Linked DNA regions of Homo sapiens: all the other regions are linked to region 1. The links are contacts of gene promoters, found by promoter capture Hi-C in blood cells and fetal thymus (Javierre and others, 2016). All regions are on one chromosome and are shown on one strand. Each heading gives the region's core, a stretch centred on a gene start or on the middle of the fragment in contact. The rest is flanking DNA. Distances are from core to core; before and after follow the strand shown. Region 1 holds the start of MTMR14 (myotubularin related protein 14). Region 2 has its middle 3.9 kb from the start of IRAK2. Region 3 overlaps FANCD2 (FA complementation group D2). Region 4 has its middle 14 kb from the start of FANCD2. Region 5 overlaps EMC3-AS1 (EMC3 antisense RNA 1). Region 6 overlaps EMC3 (ER membrane protein complex subunit 3). Region 7 has its middle 19 kb from the start of THUMPD3.

Region 1 (2,783 bases), core at 93-2,592:
CACTGCACTCCAGCCTAGGCGACAAAGCGAGACTCCTTCTCAAAAGAAAAAAAAAAAAAAAGCAAATTCCAGGATCCCACCCCCAGAAATTCTGACTTGGTAGGACTGGGTGGGACTAAGGAATCTCTGTTTTCACAAAGTATCCCATAAGCACAAATTTTAAAAGTACCCCAGATGATCATTAAACAGGTGGTCCCCAGACTATACTTGGAAAAATTACTTGGCCATTTGGAGAGTGAGGAAGTCCAATCCTTACTGAAGTCTTCCCTGGGTTACTTCAGAGACTACAAGATGCCAACTACAGAATAGCAACTCACGGTAATCTCTGAGGTCAAATCAGAGTTCTGTGGTGCAGGATGGAACAGAATTCCACTGGAAAACTTGGTGCTAAAGCTGCCAAAACCACGTGGGGGAATGAGATGGCAGGGTCGGCAAGATTCCCACCGCACTGCCAGCCAGTGCTTAGGGTGGGGATGGCCTGAGCTGACAGGAAGCCCTCCAGGTCTGGCGATAAGACGACTGGGTGGAAATCCCAAAGGGAGCAAAAAGAGGAACGGAGACCTGCTTTAGATAAAGGAACTGAAAGGGAGTGTGGGTTGTCTTCCTGCTCTATAGGGGAAGGAAAGGGATGGGCCTAAGTCATGCTGAGACCTTATAAGGGGGCAGCACACTGGGTTCACCTCCTGGCTCCATTCTGACCTCTGACCCCGAGGAATCGTCTCCCTATTTTTCTTAGCTTTTTCTTGGGGCTTTTTCCCTGACACAACTCATCCTACGGCACCTGAAGCAGGGAATAGACCTTCCTTAGGTCCTCCTCTCTGATCTTTGAACCTGGCCCCTCAGCTTGATCTCTCACCTCCAGACCCCTTCTCAAACAAGAAGGACCTCTTTGCTGGGCTCATTCTGACCCCAGTTCCTCCTTTTATGGTTGTCAAGACCGACTCTTATACTCCGGATACAGACCCTGGAGAACTCCTCTCTCTCTCTCCTCTTCCTCAGCGGCGAGGTACCACTCCTACCTTTTTCTGACCCCTGGCCTCAGCCTTTCCTCTGTAACTTCCCAAGTTAGGAGCCTTCCCCAGCTCATCGCACCTCCAATCTCACCTTAGAGCCGCCGGTCCCGCTGCCATCCTTGGCCCGGTACTGAGTCCGGGAGAACTCCTCCAGCAGCTCCCCAAGCCCCAGCTCCTGAGGCGGCTGGTTGCCTGAAGAGGCCGAGGACCCCGCCGAGGCAGCGGCGGCGGCGGCCCGAGCGCCGGCCATGGCCCAGCCCCGCGTCCCCTCAGTGTGCCTCAAGCGGGCCCATGGCACCTGCCTGCACCCAACTCCGACACTAGAACCTCCGGAACCGCCTCAGCCACCGCCTTCTACTTCCACTTCCACTTCCGGCCCCGCCCCGTCCCGCCGGATGTTTACTCCGACTCTGGCCAATCGGAGCTCTGGACCCGCGCCCCGCCTACGATTACTGGCCCGCCCCCGGCGCAGAGCGATCCTTCTATCCACCAGGGAGGCCACTGGCTGATACCGCGTGATCCGCCCCAAGGGGTTTCCCCCGGGGAAGCCGGGCTCAACCATTGGGCTGCCGGGGGAGGGGGGTAGCAGGAAGGAACCATTGAAAAGAACCAGAGGAAAAGTGGAATCAACAATTACAGGGAAGCCGAGCGTGGTGGCTCACACCTGTCATCCCAGCACTTTGGGGGGCCGAGGCGGGCGGATCACTTGAGGCCAAGAGTTCGAGACCAGGCTGCCAAAATGGTGAAACCGCATCTCTACTAAAAATAAAAAAATTAGCCGGGCATGGTGACACCCACCTGTAATCCCAACTACTTGGGAGGCTGAGGCAGGAGAATCGCTTGAACCCATGAGGCTGAGGTTGCAATGAGCCGAAATCGAACCACTACACTCCAGCCTGGGTGACAGAGCAATACTCTGTCTTAAGAAAAAAAAAAAATTACAGGGCGAGGAGGAGAGAACGCTTGGAGGCAACAAATTAGTACTAGAAACCATAATGGCAGTGGTTACCAATATTAAAACATTTCAGCCGGCCGCGGTGTCTCACGCCTGTAATCCCAGCACTTTGGTAGGCCGAGGCAGGCGGATTATGAAGTGAGGCATTCGAGACCAGCCTGATCAACGCAGTGAAACCCCGTCTCTACTAAAAATACAAAAATTAGCCGCGCGTGGTGGCAGGTGCCTGTAATCCCAGCTACTCGGGAGGCTGAGGCAGGAGAATTGCTTGAACCCGGGAGGCGGAGAGTGAGCCGAGATCGCGCCACTGCACTCCAGCCTGGGTGACAGAATGAGACTCCGTCTCTAAAACAAAAACAAAAACACAACATTTCATAAAACCCTTTCTCCCCCTGCTGCTCACAACATCCCTGTGAGTACAGTGCATTATATCATCAGCCCTATTTTATTGAGGTAGAAACTGGGAGTCAGGGAGGTGAAGCGACTGCCTTGAAATTCTGTGATGAGAAGCCTCTCATTATTATTATTATTAGAATATTTCAGACATTCGCAAAAGTGGAGACAATAGTATAATGAACCCTCATGTACCCATTAACTGGTTTTGAACAATAATCAACATCTGCTTATCTATCCTGTTTAAGCAGTCCCTTCCCATCCAGGGAATTATTTTAAAGCAAATCCCAGACATCACATTATTTCAGCTGTGAATACTTAAGCATTTATCACAACAGATTTGTACTTCAAAAAAAAAATACATAAAAAATATAAGGCTATTAACATGCCTAAGAAAATTAACAATATTCCTTAATGTGGTC
Region 2 (2,783 bases), core at 196-2,695, 510 kb before region 1:
CTAGGGCCAAGTTGCAGTTCTGCCACCAACAGGCTTTGTGACTCTGGACAACTCATTTCATTCGTCAAGCCTTGTTTCCAGCATCTGTAAAGTGGGCCTGCTCCTTCCTACTGCTTAGAGTTGTGAGGGGAGTGGAATAAATCAAATTATGTAGCCTATATAGAACACCTACTACAGGGCTTTCCTCGCACAGAGAATGTGCCCAAAAAATGGTAGCTGTCATTAGTGGTCTTGAAAAGGCACCCACTGGCCTTGGAGTCCTATCAAGTTTGGAGACCTGGTTCAGCCACTCTCCGGCTCTTAGTCCTTTGAGCCAGTTCTGTTTTCCCTTTTGGAAACTGGATCTCCTGCTGCAGCCACTTGGAAGGATTGTTATGAAGCCTAAATGGACTCCAAAACGCTCAAGATCAACTGTGAAGTGCTGAGCCCAGTAAAGGATTACTATTATGTCCTCCTTGATGTTGAAAGTGGGACATATTTCAGTGTTCTGAGACTACTTTTCAAGTGAAGTCCTGTGTTTTCAGCAGTGGCTGAAGGTGGACTTGGGAACTGTAATGATTGTTTGCCATAGGCTGGGTGGAGAAGCATCTCCATCCCAGGCACACGGGGGTAAAAGAGAATAAAGATCCTCTTCTTTTTCTCCTTTTCTCTTTTTGCAGAGTCCCCTACCTGCTTCTCCTTCTCTTCCGCAAGCAGCGTGTGTGTAGAGCTCCTCCCTCAGTGCCACAGGGCCTCTTCCCTGGGGTGAGGCTTTAAGACCACGGAAGTTTCACATTCAGCCTTGGTCAATCCTGGAAGGCAGAGGAGCCCCCACTGCTCTCTCTGCTGCATCCTCAGGCCCTTCCCGCAATTCCTTCTCACCCCAGCCTCAGGGCTTGGGATCTGTGTCCTAGGATTCTGTCTTCCAGAGAAGCTTGAGTCATTTTGGGCCTGAGCAGGTCATCACAGGGACACATCTCAGTTACCACTCTTTAGAATAAGTTCTTCAAAGTAAGGTCTTTGCTATTACTAATGGTTGCCCTTCACCTACCAACTCACCTAGCAGGCATTTAGCATACATTATCTGTAATCCATACAACCCTGCAAAGGTTTATTGTTTCTGTTTTACAGATGAAGAAACTGAGGCTGAAGTCAATTGTAACTGGGCCAAGTTGGCCAAGTGACAGTGAGGTAGGGGGCAGCACTCGACTCGAAAGGAATGGCTGGGACATCGGACCAAATTGAGGACTAGCTAAAACAGGTGTGGTGGGAAGTACCTCGCATAAGACACTGCCACCAGTGTACCTTGTCAGTTTACCATTGCCATGGCGACTCCAAGAAGTCACCGCCCCTTTCTAGAATGTTCTGCATAAACTGCCCCTTAATTTGCATATAATTAAAAGTGTGTATAAATGTGACTGTAGAACTGCCTCTGAGCCACTACTCTGGGCACACTGCCTATGGAGTAGCCCTACCCTGCAAGGAGCAGTACCTCTGCTGCGGCTGCACACTGCTATTTCAATAAAAGGTGCTATTTAACACCACTGGCTGGCCCTGGAATTCCTTTCTGGGTGAAGCTAAGAACCCTCCCAGGCTAAACCCCAATTTGGGGGCTTGCCTGTCCCGCATCAACAGGATGCAACTCAAGTCTGACCCAAAGCAAATGCTCTTTCTGCTGTGTTATACTGCCTCACCACAAGAAATTTCCTCTGATCTTGCAGTTAATTTCTTCCTCTGGCTATTTTCCATGACCAACACCCACCAGGATCAGTTAGAAACAGTTATTGAGGCTGAATGTAATTAATTACACACTTACGTCATTTTGAGCTGTTCAAGTTTAATTCCCTTGAAATTATAGTCAGTGGTTTGCAACCCTGGCTGCACAGTAGAAACATCTGGGGTGCTTTTAAAAAGTATAAATGCCTAGCCCTACCTCCAGGGAGACAGATTCAATTATTCTGGAGTGGGGCTCAGGCACTACTGTTTTTTAAAGCTTCCCAGATAATTCTAATATGTGCTGGCACAGTTGAGAACCAGTCATATCAGAAAGCTGGGGCAGAGGCCAAGCATGGTGGCTCATGCCTGCAATCCCAGCACTTTGGGAGACCGAGGTGGGTGGATCACTTGAGGTCAGGAGTTCGAGACCAGCCCAACCAACACGGCGGAACCCCGTTTCTACTAAAAATACAAAAAAATTCGCTGGGCGTGATGGCACGCACCTGTAATCCCAGCTACTTGGGAGGCTGAGGCAGGAGAATCATTTGAACCCGGGAGGTGGAGACTGCACTGAGCCAAGATCATACCACTGCACTCCAGACTGGGGGACACAGTGAGACTCCATATCAAAAAAAAAAAAAAAAAAAAAAAAAAAGCTGGAGCAGGAGGGAAGACTGATGAAAGGAGAATAATAAAGCTTCTCTATGCACTTTGCATATATTTTTCTTTTTTTTTCTCTCTTTTTGAGACGGAGTTTTGCTCTTGTTGCCCAGGCTGGAGTGCACTGGTGTGATCTTGGCTAACCGCAACCCCTGCCTCCTGGGTTCAAGCAATTCTCCTGCCTCAGCCTCCTGAGTAGCTGGGGTTACAGGCATGTGCCACCACACCCAGCTAATTTTGTATTTTGAGTAGATACGAGGTTTCTCCATGTTGGTCAGGCTGGTCTCAAACTCCTGACCTCAGGTGATCCACCCACCTCGGCCTCCCAAAGTGCTGGGATTACAGGCATGAGCCACCGCGCCCGGCTATATTTTTTTTTAACAAAAATATCTTTATTGGTTTCTCTGATAGCATGTGATATTTGTCAA
Region 3 (2,783 bases), core at 127-2,626, 380 kb before region 1:
ACCATCCTGGCTAACACGGTGAAACTCCGTCTCTACTAAAAATACAAAAAATTAGTCAGGCATGGTGGCGGGCGCCTGTAGTCCCAGCTACTTGGGAAGCTGAGGCAGAATGGTGTGAACCTGGGAGGTGGAGCTTGCAGTGAGCAGAGATCGCGCCACTGCACTCCAGCCTGGGCGACAGAGCAAGACTCCGTCTCAAAAAAAAAAAAAAAAAAAAGACTTAGCTTTGATAGCAGATAGCCACTAAGTGTTCTAAAAAAGACCTGCCATAACCTTAGCAAGATAGAATAATCTGCTCCCCCAAAACAGAATCTTATATGGCTTTATAAATTTTCTTCTGAAATTATTCTGACACTGATACAGCTGCTTTCTGGATATTTATTTTTTCATAAGAAAACACAAAATAAATAATATATAATATTTTTTCTAATAAAAGGATGAGAAATGCTTTACTTAAGACATAGTAATGAGGACCAAAGACTGTACCATTTTCTTTTTCCATTTTTGTTTTTTGGAAATGGAGTCTCACTCTTGTCGCCCAGGCTGGAGTGCAGTGGTGCGATCTTGACTCACTGCAACTTTCACCTCCCGGGTTCAAGCAATTCTCCTGACTCAGGCGCCCAAGCAGCTGGGACTACAGGCACATGCCACCATGCCCGGCTAATTTTTTATATTTTAGTAGAGACGTGTTGCCCAGGCCGGTCGCAAATTCCTGAGCTCAGGCAATCCGCCTGCCTCGAGCCTCCCAAAGTGCTGGGATGATAAACGTGAGCCACCGCGCCCGGCCTGACTGTACCATTTTCTAAAAAGCAATTTCAACTTTGTCTCAAGATGGATGGCCCTCTGATTTCTAATCTTCATTGCCTCTCTATTTAGAAAACCCATGATTCAGTCCTGAACTATTTCATTAAACCCAGAGAATAAAATTAGATTAAAATATTACCTAGTTGATTCTGACTCTCTCCCGTTTTAAGAATAATTCCTGATATCTTAAGAAGCTTTACAAAGATGCTGTCATTTTCTTCAACTTCATTAGCAATATGAGATTTCTTTGTCTTTTTGGAAAGTGGTTGCTTCCTGGTTTCTGAAAATAGAAAAATTTTCAAGAATATGGCAAATAGTAAAGGAAAAATTAAAACTTAAACCCAGGAATAATAATCATGAGAGGAAAACTGATGTGTCCTTAAAAATTATACTAGGATTGATGCTGTAGTGAAATAAACTGTCTTCAGCAATAGTGGCTTCCAAAACAAACAAATAGAATTATTTTCACCTATTTTCATTTGAAGAATTCAAAATGTGCCATTTCTGGCCAGGCAAGGTGGCTCATGTGGTAATCCCAGCAAATTAGGAGGCCAAGGCAGGAGGATCACTTGAAGCCAGGAGTTCAAGACCAGCCTGGGCAACAAAGTGAGACCACCCCCCCATCTCCCCCCCTTCACCCCCATTCCCCCCCTCCACACACAAACTAGTTAGGTGAGGAGACGCACACCTGTAGTCCCAGCTACTTCGGAGGCTAAGGCGGAAGAATAACTTGAGCCCAGGAGGTTGAGGCTATAGTGAGCTATGATATTACCACTGCACTCCAGCCTGGGTGACAGAGTGAAATCCCCATCTCTAAAAAAATAAATTCAAACAAATAAGTGCCTAACAAGAATAACCCACAGAAATGTTTTCCACCCAAATACTAAACTAGCCAGTGTCTCTCAAGCTGTTGCCTGCAAACCACTGTACTGGAATCCCTGGGAAGCTTATTAAAATGCATATTTCCGACCCAGCACAGTGGCTCACGCCTGTAATCCCAGCACTTTGGGAGGCCGAGGCAGGCTGATTACCTGAGGTCAGGAGTTCAAGACCAGCCTGGCTAACGTGGTGAAACCCCATCTCTACTAAAAATACAAAATTAACTGGGTGTGGTGGCGTGCGCCTGTAATACCAACTACTCGGGAGGCTGAGGAGGAGAATCACTTGAACCCGGGAGGCAGAGGTTGCAGTGAGCCCAGATCGCGCCACTTCACTCCTGCCTGAGCAACAGAGTGACACTCTGTCTCAAAGGAAAAAAAAGGCATATTCCATGCCATATACCAGAGTTACTGAGTCAAAATCTTGGGAATGGGACCTAGGAATCCGAATTTTTTATGTTCTTCAGATAATAATCCTGATACACACCAAATTTGAGACTCAATGATCTGAATAAAGGGTAGACAGAATGGGGAAGGTTCTTTGTATCATATCTTTGACTACAATGCTCAGATAGGTTTAATCCCAAGACTTTCAACCCATAAAAAGAAATAAGAAACAAGAAACAAACAGGTACTTGAAGCCAAGTTTAAAATTTACTCTTCTCCCTTAATGATGCCATTTTGTTTTTTCCTTCTTCAATTCCTCTCCCTCTTTCTTTTTTTTTTTTTTTTGAAATGGAGTCTTGCTCTGTCGCCCAGGCTGGAGTGCAGTGGCGCGATCTTGGCTCACTGCAAGCTCCGCCTCCCGGGTTCATGCCATTCTCCTGCCTCAGCCTCCCAGTAGCTGGGACTACAGGTGCACACCACCACGCCCGGCTAATTTTTTGTATTTTTAGTAGAGACGGGGTTTCACCATGTTAGCCAAGATGGTCTCAATCTCCTGACCTCGTGATCTGCCCGCCTTGGCCACCCAAAGTGCTGGGATTACAGGCGTGAGCCACCGTGCCTGGCCTCCTTTCCCTCTTTCTAATAAAGCCTTAATCAGAATGAGACAAAGACCACTACCTTCCTGAATGAAATGTAAAACACAACCAGAATGAA
Region 4 (2,783 bases), core at 284-2,783, 360 kb before region 1:
TGGTGGGCGCCTGTAGTCCCAGCTACTCGGGAGGCTGAGGCAGGAGAATGGTGTGAACTCGGGAGGCGGAGCTTGCAGTGAGCCAAGATTGTGCCACTGCACTCCAGCCTGGGCGACAGAGCGAGACTCTGCCTCAAAAAAAAAAAAAAAAAGAGACAGAATAAATAGTAAATAGTAAAATGCAAGAAGTGAGGCTTCACCACCCCACCTAGCTGATTTTTGTCTTCATCTGTGCAACTATGTTGGAGCAATCTTATTCCTCCTTTTCTTCGGTGGACACATGCAGCAAAATCTTAATAGAAGTGAAAGATGCGTCCTCCGGCAGCCCTGTGGCAGCCCCAGTTTCTTTTCTTTTCTTTTTTTTTTTTTTTTTTTTTGAGACGGAGTCTCACTCTGTCCCCCAGGCTGGAGTGCAGTGGCACAATCTCGGCTCACTGCAAACTCCACCTCCCAGGTTCACGCCACTCTCCTGCCTCAGCCTTCTGAGTAGCTGGGACTATAGGTGCCCGCCACCAAGCCTGGCTAATTTTTTGTATTTTTAGTAGAGATGGAGTTTCACCATGTTAGCCAGGATGGTCTCGATTTCCTGACCTCGTGATCCTCCCGCCTTGGCCTCCCAAAGTGCTGGGATTACAGGCATGAGCCACTGCGTCCGGCTGCGGCAGCCCCAGTTTCTTGTTGGCTAGGCTGATGTCACAGCCTCAGGCTGTCCAGCTTGGACAACACTGGCTTCCTGTGATGATTGTCGCTGGGCAAGGGACGTTTCTGGGTCTCTGCCACTGCTGCTGGTGGTGTGGGTGGAGGTAGAGGCCACAGCGTCACGCTGGGGGGCTTTGCCAAAACTGTCCGGCTTCCTCTGCAGGCTGGCAGGGGCACTGGCAGGAACAGTGGTCTTCTGCTGAATGCTGAATATGGGACAAGCTGGCTCGCTGTGAGCCTGCTTCAGTGGGAGAGAGAAGGTGGAAACTTCAGTGGATAGAGAAGGACAGGTGGGAACCCCAGGAGGAAGGGACCATGGTCTGATGGTGGACTGCTTCTTTTGTTTGTTCTAAAATGAGGTAGGTGGCCATAGGATAGTGAAACGCTTTTTCTTTGATTGGCACAGAGATGTTCTTGGCCTGGAATCCCATGGCCACCATGAGCTGGGTGGTATGTTGGCTCATGGCTCTTTGTATGTTGTCCGTGGCATCTCCTAACCACAGTTCACCCACCAGTCCCTCAAAACTTCTTTCAGTGGGGGCCACTCCCTGGGTTCTAGTGTTAGTAACTTTTGAATGAATCTTTCAAGTTGAAGGGAAAAAAAATGGTGAGGCGTGGTAGCTTCCTGTGAAAATTTGATTCTTGAGGTCCATCGTGTTCCCTGAATAGAAGGGTAGGGCCCCGGCCACCATATGGTAGAGTATGACGCCAAGGCCCCATATGTCCATGGCAGGGCACTGGTACCCCCAGCCCAGGAAGAGTTCTGAGCAGGAATGGTGGTCTTCTGCCTTCACTTCTCGCCGTCCTTGGGCAGTCAAAAATTAAAAGTGGGAACAGCTGGCTCCCTTTGAGCCCTCTTTGGTTCCACAAGGAAGGCAGACTTTGTCAGATGGGGAAGAACAGGTGGGACCCCCAGGAGGAAGGGCTGTGCTCCAATGATGGAGCGCTTCCTCCTCTGTACTTTTCTCTACCCCAGGATTAGGTACGTGGCCATGGGATAATCACATATGTATTTTTTGTTGGGGAGAATATTGATTCCGAGATGTGTGCTGCTTGGAATCCCATGGCCACCATTACCAGGGTTGTAGGGGGCATAGGTGTCCAGGGTCTCTGTATGGTGTCAGCAGTGTCTTCTGGCCAGCATTGACCCAGGGGTCCCACGTCAGCTGGTTTAGTGGGGGCCACTCCCTGGGGTCGAGGCTGAGGAATTGTTTTACTAGTGTTTCCAGTGGAAACGAAGAAATAGGTGGGCAGTCATACTGTCACATAGCCTGAGGCAGGAAGGGACCACGGGTGGGGCTGGATGTTTTTCAGCCTCCCTGGCAGAGATCACTGACAGAGTGGTCAGCTTGGCCAAGTTTCTGCGGTGGCTGGCAGAAGAGGGAGAGGGAGGCAGTCCCCAGAGCAGGAATGCCTTCCCTTGCAGGGGAAAAACCGGCCATCCTCCCCTCAGAGCCTCCTTCACTGCAGCCCGTGGGAAGTGAGTGACCTGGGGGATCCGTGCCCCAGGGGCTAACCTCTGGGCTCTGGCTTAGCCCCACCCCGGGGAAACATTCACAGCCCCTCCTGAAGAGAGCCTTGCTGCAGGAAGACTCTGGCGGCGGGTGTGGGGGGGTGGTGCCCAGCTGGGAGAGTTCTGGGCTGTTGGTGGCAGTACCCCAGGCTCCAAACTCTCTGGGCCTGGGGGCAATTCCCTTCCCTGAGTACAACAGATTCCCACCCCGCCCTGCCCTACTGCCCGCCCCGCAGGGAAGTGGCCCAGGAGAGGAGGCGTGGACAGGTATCCCAGTGACTCCAGTCGGAGTCAGCTTGGGTAGCATGGCCCGCGGAAGACAGACCGGGCGAACGGGGCGGGCCCCAGGCTACCGAGCTGCAGCTGACAGGCAGTCCGGCGGCGTCGGGTCTCCATGGATACGGGGGTGGGGCCAGGCGGCGGCGAGCGGCGGCGGGCGGGGCTTTTAACGGCCATCGGCCCCTCCCAGCCTGGACAAAGACACAGAGCGCGGCCTGGGAGGCGGAGCTCTGCGGGCGGCCGGGGCCGCCTCCTTCCAGGCGCTGCTGCCCCAACACAGGCGGGCACTCTC
Region 5 (2,783 bases), core at 88-2,587, 340 kb before region 1:
TAGTAATGCTGGCTTCAGGAGATTTAGGAATATGCCAGTGTAACTTGACCATCCCGTCTTGACCTATTTCCCATATTTTATCAGTGAGCTCTACCTAAGCCCTCCTGATTTTGCTCCTGGGCGTAGTTTTCCTCTTTCTTTTTCCCATATGGGTTAAATTTTACCCTTTAGGTTGAGGTTGTACAAGATCAGTTGAAATTCCTCAAAAAGATGCCACTCAAGGAGCTAAAAGCTTTAAAGGTTTTCTCCATATAGTACAGGCTAGATTTGCATGTTTCCAAGCAAACATGGATCATGACAGTGTCTCTAAGACATTAAGAGGGTCCAGAAATGTCTTAGATGCCATTCTCCCTTTATACCGTCACTCCATAAGTCATAACAGAATTCTCAATTACAACAGCTACCTCATGTCAGCTGCAACTACTGCTCTATTTTAAATGTTTACAATTTTTTTTACAAATCTTCATTTTAAAAGTTCCATTCAGATGCGTTTTAACATTGCTAATAGGAAGAATATATGTACAAATACAAAATAAGACACTGTGCTTTACTTGCTTTCATAAACATTTTCCACAAATACAGTCCTCTCTCTCTGGATATATGCTATTAAAATGTGTCTCGGCCAGGCACGGTGGCTCATGCCTGTAATTGCAGCACTTTGGGAGGGCGAGGCAGGTGAATCACCTGAGCTCAGGAGTTCGAGACCAGGATGGCCAACATGGTGAAACCCTGTCTCTACTAAAAACACAAAAAATTAGCTGGGCATAGTGGCACGCGCCTGTAATCCCAGCCACTCAGGAGGCTGAGACAGGAAAACTGCTTGAATCCGGGAGGCGAAGGTTGCAGTGAGCCGAGATTGCGCCACTGTACTCCAGCCTGGGCAACAAGAACGAAACTCTGTCTTGAAAAAAAAAAAGTGTCTCATGTTTTGAAATAGACCAAATCTGTATCTTAATTTCAGACAAGAGAATTTTAGAGTTCAGAACACAGAGTTAGATCCACCAGTCAAATCTCTTCATTTCATCAAGGCTGGGAGTAAAATTGAGCTTTCCTGAGACCCAGTTCAGAGCTACTTTCCCTTCAGTAAGTTCCAACCAACAAAAAATAAGCATTAGATGATTCTTCCTTCCTCTGTTCCCTCCTTGCCAAAATAAGTATTTCAACATACCTGCTGGCAGTATGTGTCAAAAAACATAAACACATTATTTGTATAGGAGACTGCCAAATGAAATTCTACTCTAGTCTAGAGAGTGAAGCAAACTCTGAGCCAGCGACATAATGGATGAACACATATCCTTAAGAACCTTGAGTGGGGAAGAGTAGAGAGAGAAAAGAAGCTGTAGGAAACAGTACACAACCTAAGAGTTGCTTATCCTTTTGGAATGTCAGATCAGACTTCTCTTCCCCAACTCTCATTTTAACTTAAGAAATCTTAATCTTTGTTTTACACAGAATAATCCTTCACCATTCTGAGTTTTCTCTCAGGATCAATGGGAGTCCACATTTGGATATTAATTGACTGTTAAGCTCAAAGAAGTTAAGTTATAAGCCTAATAGTACATTCCTATCTGCTCGATTTGGGATTGGAGGCCAGATCTTCTAAATCCCGGTTTCCTCATGCAATCACACGACCCCCCAGGGATGTTCCACCTTGGTTATAATTTGAAGTTGGTCTATAAGGTTCAATGCTAACTAAACTGACTTTTTTAAAAGAAGTGATCATGCTCTATCAATAATGCAATATATAGACATTAATGGACCCAGAGTAAATAACCAGTTAATAAACATAGCTTCCTTATTGATACCATAATTTTAAAAAATCTTACATTTAGTAGTAAGCTGGGTATAATGCTTTATTGGGGAAAATGCAATGAAAAATTACATATGGTTTCCGTGTCTAGAAAATTACAGCCCAAAACACATATAACTGGCAGAAATAAACACAGAAAAGAACTGCTAGATGAAATAAGACAAACATTAAATCTATTCCTAAATATAAAATGTAAGATCCAATGAGGTATTCTCATTAGCTCCTAACCCAAACCCCAAACTACTGGCCCATCCAGTTTTCTAAGTTCTATACTGTTAATATACTGAACGTTCAGCCAGCAAAACATTATTCCCAGTTTATAAATTCCAGTTTGAATAATTTACATTTCCAGAGGAATTATCACCTAAAATCCAGTTTTGAATGGCCAAAGAGTGATAGTTCAAATAGGTCCATATTTACGTTTCTACTAGTTTCTACAGCCTGGTCCTATTCCCCTCAAGGTTTTTATAAGCTACTTAGAATAGGATACGAAAGGCTAGTTTGTCATAATTGCAAACTGCATTGAGATAGACAATTAAAATGTTAATGCAAAAATAAAATTCAAAAATTTCAATGGGTTTGAACAATGGACTGAAATAAGATGAAATTTTACATGAGAGCTGTAAAGCTTTCTGTTTTAGATTAAAAATCAATAGTCTCTGACACTTACTAAGTAATGAACAGAGAATGTACTCTGGAGCAGCTGTTCTTGAATGCAGCCTGATCGAATCTTATTTCTTAGCACCCTTTCAATGTACTTCTTTGTCTGAGTATTGGTGCTATAGATGATGAAAAGCATCACCAGGTCAATAAATATGCAATAATAGAAAAACAGTTAACCAATCAGTACATTTGCTACAATGAAACAGCAGCTTTTCCTCTAATTAAAACACACAATGGATGATGCTCATTTGTTCCACACACTCCCCTGGTAGTATCTACACTTTTCACAAAACCCAGAAATATTTTTTAA
Region 6 (2,783 bases), core at 73-2,572, 320 kb before region 1:
AAGGAAGCCTCAGTGATATAGTTCAAAACTTGGAATGGCTCTCCCAGTAGCTATAGTCCTCGGTACTGTATTTCCTGAAATCCATGTCTCATCCCTTCTTGTAAGTATGGAACACACCCAGTGGCTCACGCCTGTAATCCCAGCACTTTGGGAGGCTGAGGTGGGCGGATCACTTGAGGTCAGGAGTTCGAGACCAGCTTGGCCAACATGGTGAGACCCCATCTCTAATAAAAATATAAAAATTAGCCAGGCATGGTGGTGTGTGCCTGTAGTCCCAGCTACTCAGGAGGTTGAGGCAGGAGAATCTCTTGAACCCAGGTGGCAGAGGTTGCAGTGAGCCAAGATTGCGCCACTGCACTCCAGCCTGGGTAACAGGGTGAGACTCCGTCTCAAAAAAAAAAAAAGTATGGAACACACCAACACTTGTGATTTCCTCTAGGGAATGGAATTCAGAATGGGAGTCACCTTTGGATTTTTTGAAATATAGTTCTGTATTGGTGAGACTGCTTTAACAACTTGTATTTCTTCTGTGGTTGTGCTTTGGATGAATATAGCCCATCCAAGGTGACTTCTTTACAAACACTGAACAACTTTGGGTGGTAGGGAAGTGGGAACTGCATTACTCTCTGATATAATAACTAACCACACCATTTTCATTTTGCTTTGCCAGGGTGAGTTCTGCATCCTGGTACTTCCTCAATGTATTTGGGCTTCGGAGCATTTACTCTCTGATTCTGGGCCAAGATAATGGTAAGAAGCATGTCAGGTTTACTAAGCAAATACTTCCATAGATGAATCATCCATATTAGAGCCAGAAAAGTCTTGTAGGTTGTGCTGTTTGTTACCATAGTCAAATAAAATGTTTCCTTCCTTAAGTTTCTGAGGTATTCTGAAAGAGTCTTAAAAATTCCGGGGGTCAAACTGAAGATCTCAATTCTCTCTGGCAATGACTGGGACAGTATTTTGATTCCCCAGAGTCTGATACCATCATGTGAGGGATCCAGCACCAGCAGTGTAAGCCTGTGAACCTAAAGCTTAAAGAAGGCTTGGTTTGTCAGTTCATTGACTAGAGCCCTTGCCAGTACTAATCCTTGCTCTCTTGTTTACTGGCTGGGACCTCAGAAAAGTTACTTAACAAGTTACTTAACTTCGAATTCTCTATTTACTTATCTGTAAATAAGGACTTTATTAGTTAACCTGTGGGGTTGTTAGGAACAGATGAGGAAAAATATGCAAAGCACTTAGTGAAGTACTTGGCATGCAGTAGTTGCTCAATAACTGGTGGCTGTTATTGTTGAAATTTGAAATAAAGTTTAGAGCTTCCTTTAGTGATCTCTCTTTTGCTGTTACTGTCCCCATTTTTCAGGAGACACAAAGTGACTTTCCTAGAGTCACATAGCCAGTGGGTGACAGGGCCAGCCAGTGAGGCTGTAGTCCAGTTCTCTAATCTGTGTGAAGCCCATTCTTCCCCTTGGGTGCTGGGGTGCTTGCTGAGTCCTGGCACTCATGTAAGTGTGTCTTATGCTACAGCCGCTGACCAATCACGAATGATGCAGGAGCAGATGACGGGAGCAGCCATGGCCATGCCCGCAGACACAAACAAAGCTTTCAAGGTATACTCCTTCACCTTTCAAAGCTGCAGCAATGCTCTGAAAGGTGTTACCAAGAGCTATTTTAAAAATAGCTTCCTTGAAGGGAGTGTTGTGTGGTTCCATCGTTTTAATTTAAACTTAGTAAAAACATAGTTTACACGTCTCTCTTTCCTGAGACAGAATCATCTATTAAGTAAATGGAAATTCTTGGTGCTTTTACTGGTTTTTAAATGCTCACTGGAATTTAATCCACACTATCAATGATGCTGTAAAATAATCCAATCGGAGGTGCCAGGTAAACATTTAGAATAATTTGAACCTTTTTGAACCCCATAGACATCAGATATAAATTGCATTAAAAAAACAATACTAAGAGCCTTTTCACAAAAAGGTTCTAGAATTTGCAAAATTTAGTATGATTTTTGTGGGACAAAATCTCACTGTGTTTCATGATAGAAACTAAAAGAGAAGGGAAGTTCCGGCCAGGCACAGGGGCTCACACGTGTAATCCCAGCACTTTGGGAGGCCAAGGTGGGCAGATCACCTGAGTTCAGGAGTTCGACACCAGCCTGGACAACATGGTGAAACCCTGTCTCTATTAAAAATACAAAAATGGGCCAGGTGCGGTGGCTCACGCCTGTAATCCCAGCACTTTGGGAGGCCAAGGCAGGTGGGTCAGCTGAGGTCAGGAGTTCAAGACCAGCCTGGCCAACATGGTGAAACCTCTTTTCTACTAAAGATACAAAAAAAAAATTTGCTGGGCATGGTGGTGGGCACCTGTAATCCCAGTTACTTGGGAGGCTGAGACAGAATTGCTTGAACTCAGGAGGTGGAGTTTGCAGTGAGCTGAGATTGATTGCACCATTGCACTCCAGCCTGGGCAACAAGAGCAAAACTCTGTCTCAAAAAAAAAAAAAAAATACAAAAATGAGCTGGGCACGGTGGCATGTGCCTATAATCCCAGCCACCCAGGAGGCTGAGGCAGGAGAATCACTGGAACCTGGGAGGCGGAGGCTGTAGTGAGCCAAGATCGTGCCACTGCACTCCAGCCTGGATGACAGACCAAGATTCCGTCTCAAAAAAAAAAAGAGAGAAATTTCTCAGCCTGATAAAGGACATCTATGACAGACCCACAGCTAACATCATACTCAATGGTGAAAGACTGAAAGCTTTCCCTTTAAGATTAAGAAC
Region 7 (2,783 bases), core at 212-2,711, 310 kb after region 1:
ACCGCACCTGGCCTCTTTTTTCTTTTTTTTTTGAGATGGGGTCTTGCTCTGTTACCCAGGCTGGAGTGCAGTGGTGTGTTTATGGCTCACTGTAGCCTTCACTTCCTGGTGGGCTCAAGCAATACCCTCACCTCAGCCTCCAGAGTAGCTGGGACTACCACCCCTGGCTGTTTATTTTTATTTTTGCAGGGACAGGTGTCTCCCTGTTTTGTCCAGGCTGGTCTCAAACTCCTGGCCTCAGGCAATTTTCCTGCCTGGGCCTCCCGAATTGCTGAGATTACATGTGTGAGCCATCATGCCTGGCCTGCTTTTCTGTTCTTGAACCTGCAACAGTTCTCCCAGTCTTTGAGTCACAATCTGGCTTGTACATTAAAATGATCATTCTACTGGTAGAAGTATTGGATAAGACCTTTCTGGGAGAGTATTTGGCAACAGGTTTAGAGTCTTAAATATGTAGCCTCCTTGGCTTTTTTTTTTTGAGACGGAGTCTCGCTCTGTCACCAGGCTGGAGTGCAGTGGTGCAATCTCAGCTCACTGCAACCTCTGTCTCCCAGGTTCAAGTGATTCTCCTGCCTCAGCCTCCTGAGTAGCTGGGACTACAGGCGCACGCCACCACACCCAGCTAATTTTTGTATTTTTAGTAGAGACAGGGTTTTTCACCATGTTGGCCAGGATGGTCTTGATTTCCTGACCTCGTGATCCACCCGCCTAGGCCTCCCAAAGTGCTGGGATTACAGGCATGAGCCACCACGCTTGGCCAATATTTTTTTAATATTAGGAAATATAGAAAGGTAGTAGGGGGTTGGTTAAACAAATGATGCTATTTCCATTGGATAAAATCTCCTGTTTTCTTTCTTTCTTTTTTTTTGTTTTTTGTTTTTGAGACGGAGTCTGACTTTGTCACCTAGGCTGGAGTGCAGTGGTGTGATCTCGGCTCACTGCAACCTCCGCCTCCCGGCTCCAAGCAATTCTCCTGCCTCAGTCTTCTGAGTAACTGGGGATTATAGGTGCCTGCCGTCACACCTGGCTAATTTTTGTATTGTTTTTATTTTTGGTTTTTTTTGAGACGGAGTCTCTGTTGCCCAGGCTAGAGTCCGGTGGCACGATCTCAGCTCATTGCAACCTCTGCCTCCCAGGTTCAAGCGATTCTCCTGCCTCAGCCTCCTGAATAGCTGGAATTACAGGCACCCACCACAATGCCCAGCTAATTTTTGTATTTTTAGTAGAGACGGATTTTCACCATGTTGGCCAGGCTGATCTCCAACTTCTGACCTCAGGTGATCCGCCCGCCTCGGCCTCCCAAAGTTCTGGGATTACAGGCGTGAGCCACCGTGCCCAGCCAATTTTTGTATTTTTAGTAGAGATCGGCTTTCACCACGTTGGCCAGGCTGGTCTCCAACTCCTGACCTCAGGTGATCTGCCCGTCTTGGCCTCCCAAAGTGCTGGGATTACAGGTGTGAGACACCGTGCCCACGCTATTTTCATTATAAAAATGATAATGAGTGTTACTGATACAGAAAAATTGTTCCCAAGACTAATTTTTAATTATAATTTTTAAAAGTAGGGCAGGCTGTGTGTGGTGGCTCATGCCTGTAATCCTAGAACTTTAGGCAGATTAGAAGTTCGAGGCCAGCCTGGGCAACATGGCAAAACCCTGTCCCTACAAAAAATACAAAAATTAGCTGGGCATGATACTGTGCGCTGTAGTCCTGCTCCTCGGGATGCTGAGGTCGGAGGATAGCTTGAGACTGGGAGGTCAAGGCTGCAGTGAGCCATTATTGTGTGTCTGCACTCTAGCCTGGGTGACAGAGAAAGACCCTGTCTCAAAAAATTTAAAAGTAGAGCATATAAGAGTATGCATAATATAATCTTTTTAATATAAAGATGTATGCCTATTCATAGAAAATGGCTAGAAGTATATATAATACAATGCTACTAGTAATTGTGTTTTTGTACTATTAAGGATTTTTCTGAAATGTCTACAATAAACATATATGACTTCTATAAAAAAGAAAAAAGTATTTACAAATACTTGAAACAAAAGATTACTTTGGCAGCATTTATGAGAATGTGAATGAGAGAGACTGGATGAGAGATTGTTGTAGTAGTTCGGGAAAAAGGCAATGTAAGTAAGAACCAAGGTCATGGTGTGGATGGAGAAGGAAAAGCTGATTTAAGACATATTCAACAGCCCTACGAGGACTATAAACACATACCACACCTTCAAGTCAATAATAAAATTGGTCTTTCAAAGAGCCAGCATGATTCTTCCATATCCTTAAAGTATCTTCAAATACGCATTTGAAGAAACTTGGGGTTTTGGCTTTCCAGCTTGTTTAGCTACGTTAATGGACATACAGTTGAGCAAAAAGGAGAATATGAGAGGAGGATCAGACTGTGGAAGAAGACAATAAATTTAATTTTGCATGTGTGCAGTTTGAAGGGCTTGTGGGAGATGTACTAAGAGCTGAGCAGGGGATGCCAGGGGACAAGGAGTCCAGTGAGAAGATCGAAGAGGCATGGTGGGCCCGGACAGCCCAGAATGGGCTAGTCTGGGTTGAAAGCCTGGCAAGAATGACCAGTTGGACAAGTTCGAGGTTGCTTTCATTTCAGCTTTCTGTGAAACCTGCAAGTAATCAGAACAGGCACAGGAAATGAGAATAATAAAAGCGAATGAGTACACTCTGGAGGTTCTTCTGCCTCCTCATGGAGTTGTAACCAAAGTTCAAGGGTGAGTGAAGCCATTCTCAAATCTGATCTTCAATTCACTGTTTTTCAGGTAG

What was found. Contacts are between HindIII fragments. The CHiCAGO score rates a contact against its expected background, and 5 or more counts as called.
Region 2: a fragment that was not itself captured here is called in contact with the fragment with the promoter of MTMR14 in region 1 in 1 of 17 cell types (neutrophils); the score reaches 5.9 in neutrophils.
Region 3: a fragment that was not itself captured here is called in contact with the fragment with the promoter of MTMR14 in region 1 in 3 of 17 cell types (neutrophils, monocytes and total B cells); the score reaches 8.5 in neutrophils.
Region 4: a contact is called between a fragment that was not itself captured here and the fragment with the promoter of MTMR14 in region 1, in 1 of 17 cell types (neutrophils). The highest score is 6.2, in neutrophils.
Region 5: a contact is called between a fragment that was not itself captured here and the fragment with the promoter of MTMR14 in region 1, in 1 of 17 cell types (neutrophils). The highest score is 5.9, in neutrophils.
Region 6: a fragment that was not itself captured here is called in contact with the fragment with the promoter of MTMR14 in region 1 in 1 of 17 cell types (neutrophils); the score reaches 8.7 in neutrophils.
Region 7: a contact is called between a fragment that was not itself captured here and the fragment with the promoter of MTMR14 in region 1, in 1 of 17 cell types (neutrophils). The highest score is 7.6, in neutrophils.

Annotation. Positions count from the first base shown.
Region 1 is chr3:9,648,064-9,650,846 of GRCh38, reverse strand. MTMR14 (myotubularin related protein 14) reads right to left here and starts at 1,342. Exons shown (of 19, transcript NM_001077525.3): 1 at 1,105-1,342. The coding sequence starts at 1,263. RefSeq lists silencers at 1,178-1,277, 1,378-1,487 and enhancers at 1,359-1,528, 815-1,710, 1,518-1,747. The HindIII fragment of the contact is 16,951 bases long and covers 1-2,783 here.
Region 2 is chr3:10,159,609-10,162,391 of GRCh38, reverse strand. No RefSeq gene overlaps it. Among named protein-coding and RNA genes, the nearest start is that of IRAK2, 3.9 kb to the left of the region's middle. The HindIII fragment of the contact is 1,059 bases long and covers 916-1,974 here.
Region 3 is chr3:10,031,133-10,033,915 of GRCh38, reverse strand. It overlaps FANCD2 (FA complementation group D2), which reads right to left. Exons shown (of 44, transcript NM_001018115.3): 3 at 944-1,084. Among named protein-coding and RNA genes, the nearest start is that of FANCD2, 6.1 kb to the right of the region's middle. The HindIII fragment of the contact is 752 bases long and covers 1,001-1,752 here.
Region 4 is chr3:10,011,080-10,013,862 of GRCh38, reverse strand. It overlaps a transcript of EMC3 not described here and the pseudogene MARK2P2. Among named protein-coding and RNA genes, the nearest start is that of FANCD2, 14 kb to the left of the region's middle. RefSeq lists an enhancer at 2,191-2,716 and a silencer at 2,515-2,744. The HindIII fragment of the contact is 6,602 bases long and covers 1-2,783 here.
Region 5 is chr3:9,992,709-9,995,491 of GRCh38, reverse strand. All of the region lies in intron 2 of EMC3-AS1 (EMC3 antisense RNA 1), which reads right to left. It also overlaps a transcript of EMC3 not described here and the pseudogene FANCD2P1. Among named protein-coding and RNA genes, the nearest start is that of EMC3-AS1, 7.2 kb to the right of the region's middle. The HindIII fragment of the contact is 2,206 bases long and covers 235-2,440 here.
Region 6 is chr3:9,968,549-9,971,331 of GRCh38, reverse strand. It overlaps EMC3 (ER membrane protein complex subunit 3), which reads left to right. Exons shown (of 8, transcript NM_001394674.1): 6 at 671-750; 7 at 1,531-1,613. Among named protein-coding and RNA genes, the nearest start is that of EMC3, 17 kb to the left of the region's middle. The HindIII fragment of the contact is 571 bases long and covers 1,037-1,607 here.
Region 7 is chr3:9,342,731-9,345,513 of GRCh38, reverse strand. It overlaps a transcript of SRGAP3 not described here. Among named protein-coding and RNA genes, the nearest start is that of THUMPD3, 19 kb to the left of the region's middle. The HindIII fragment of the contact is 7,296 bases long and covers 1-2,783 here.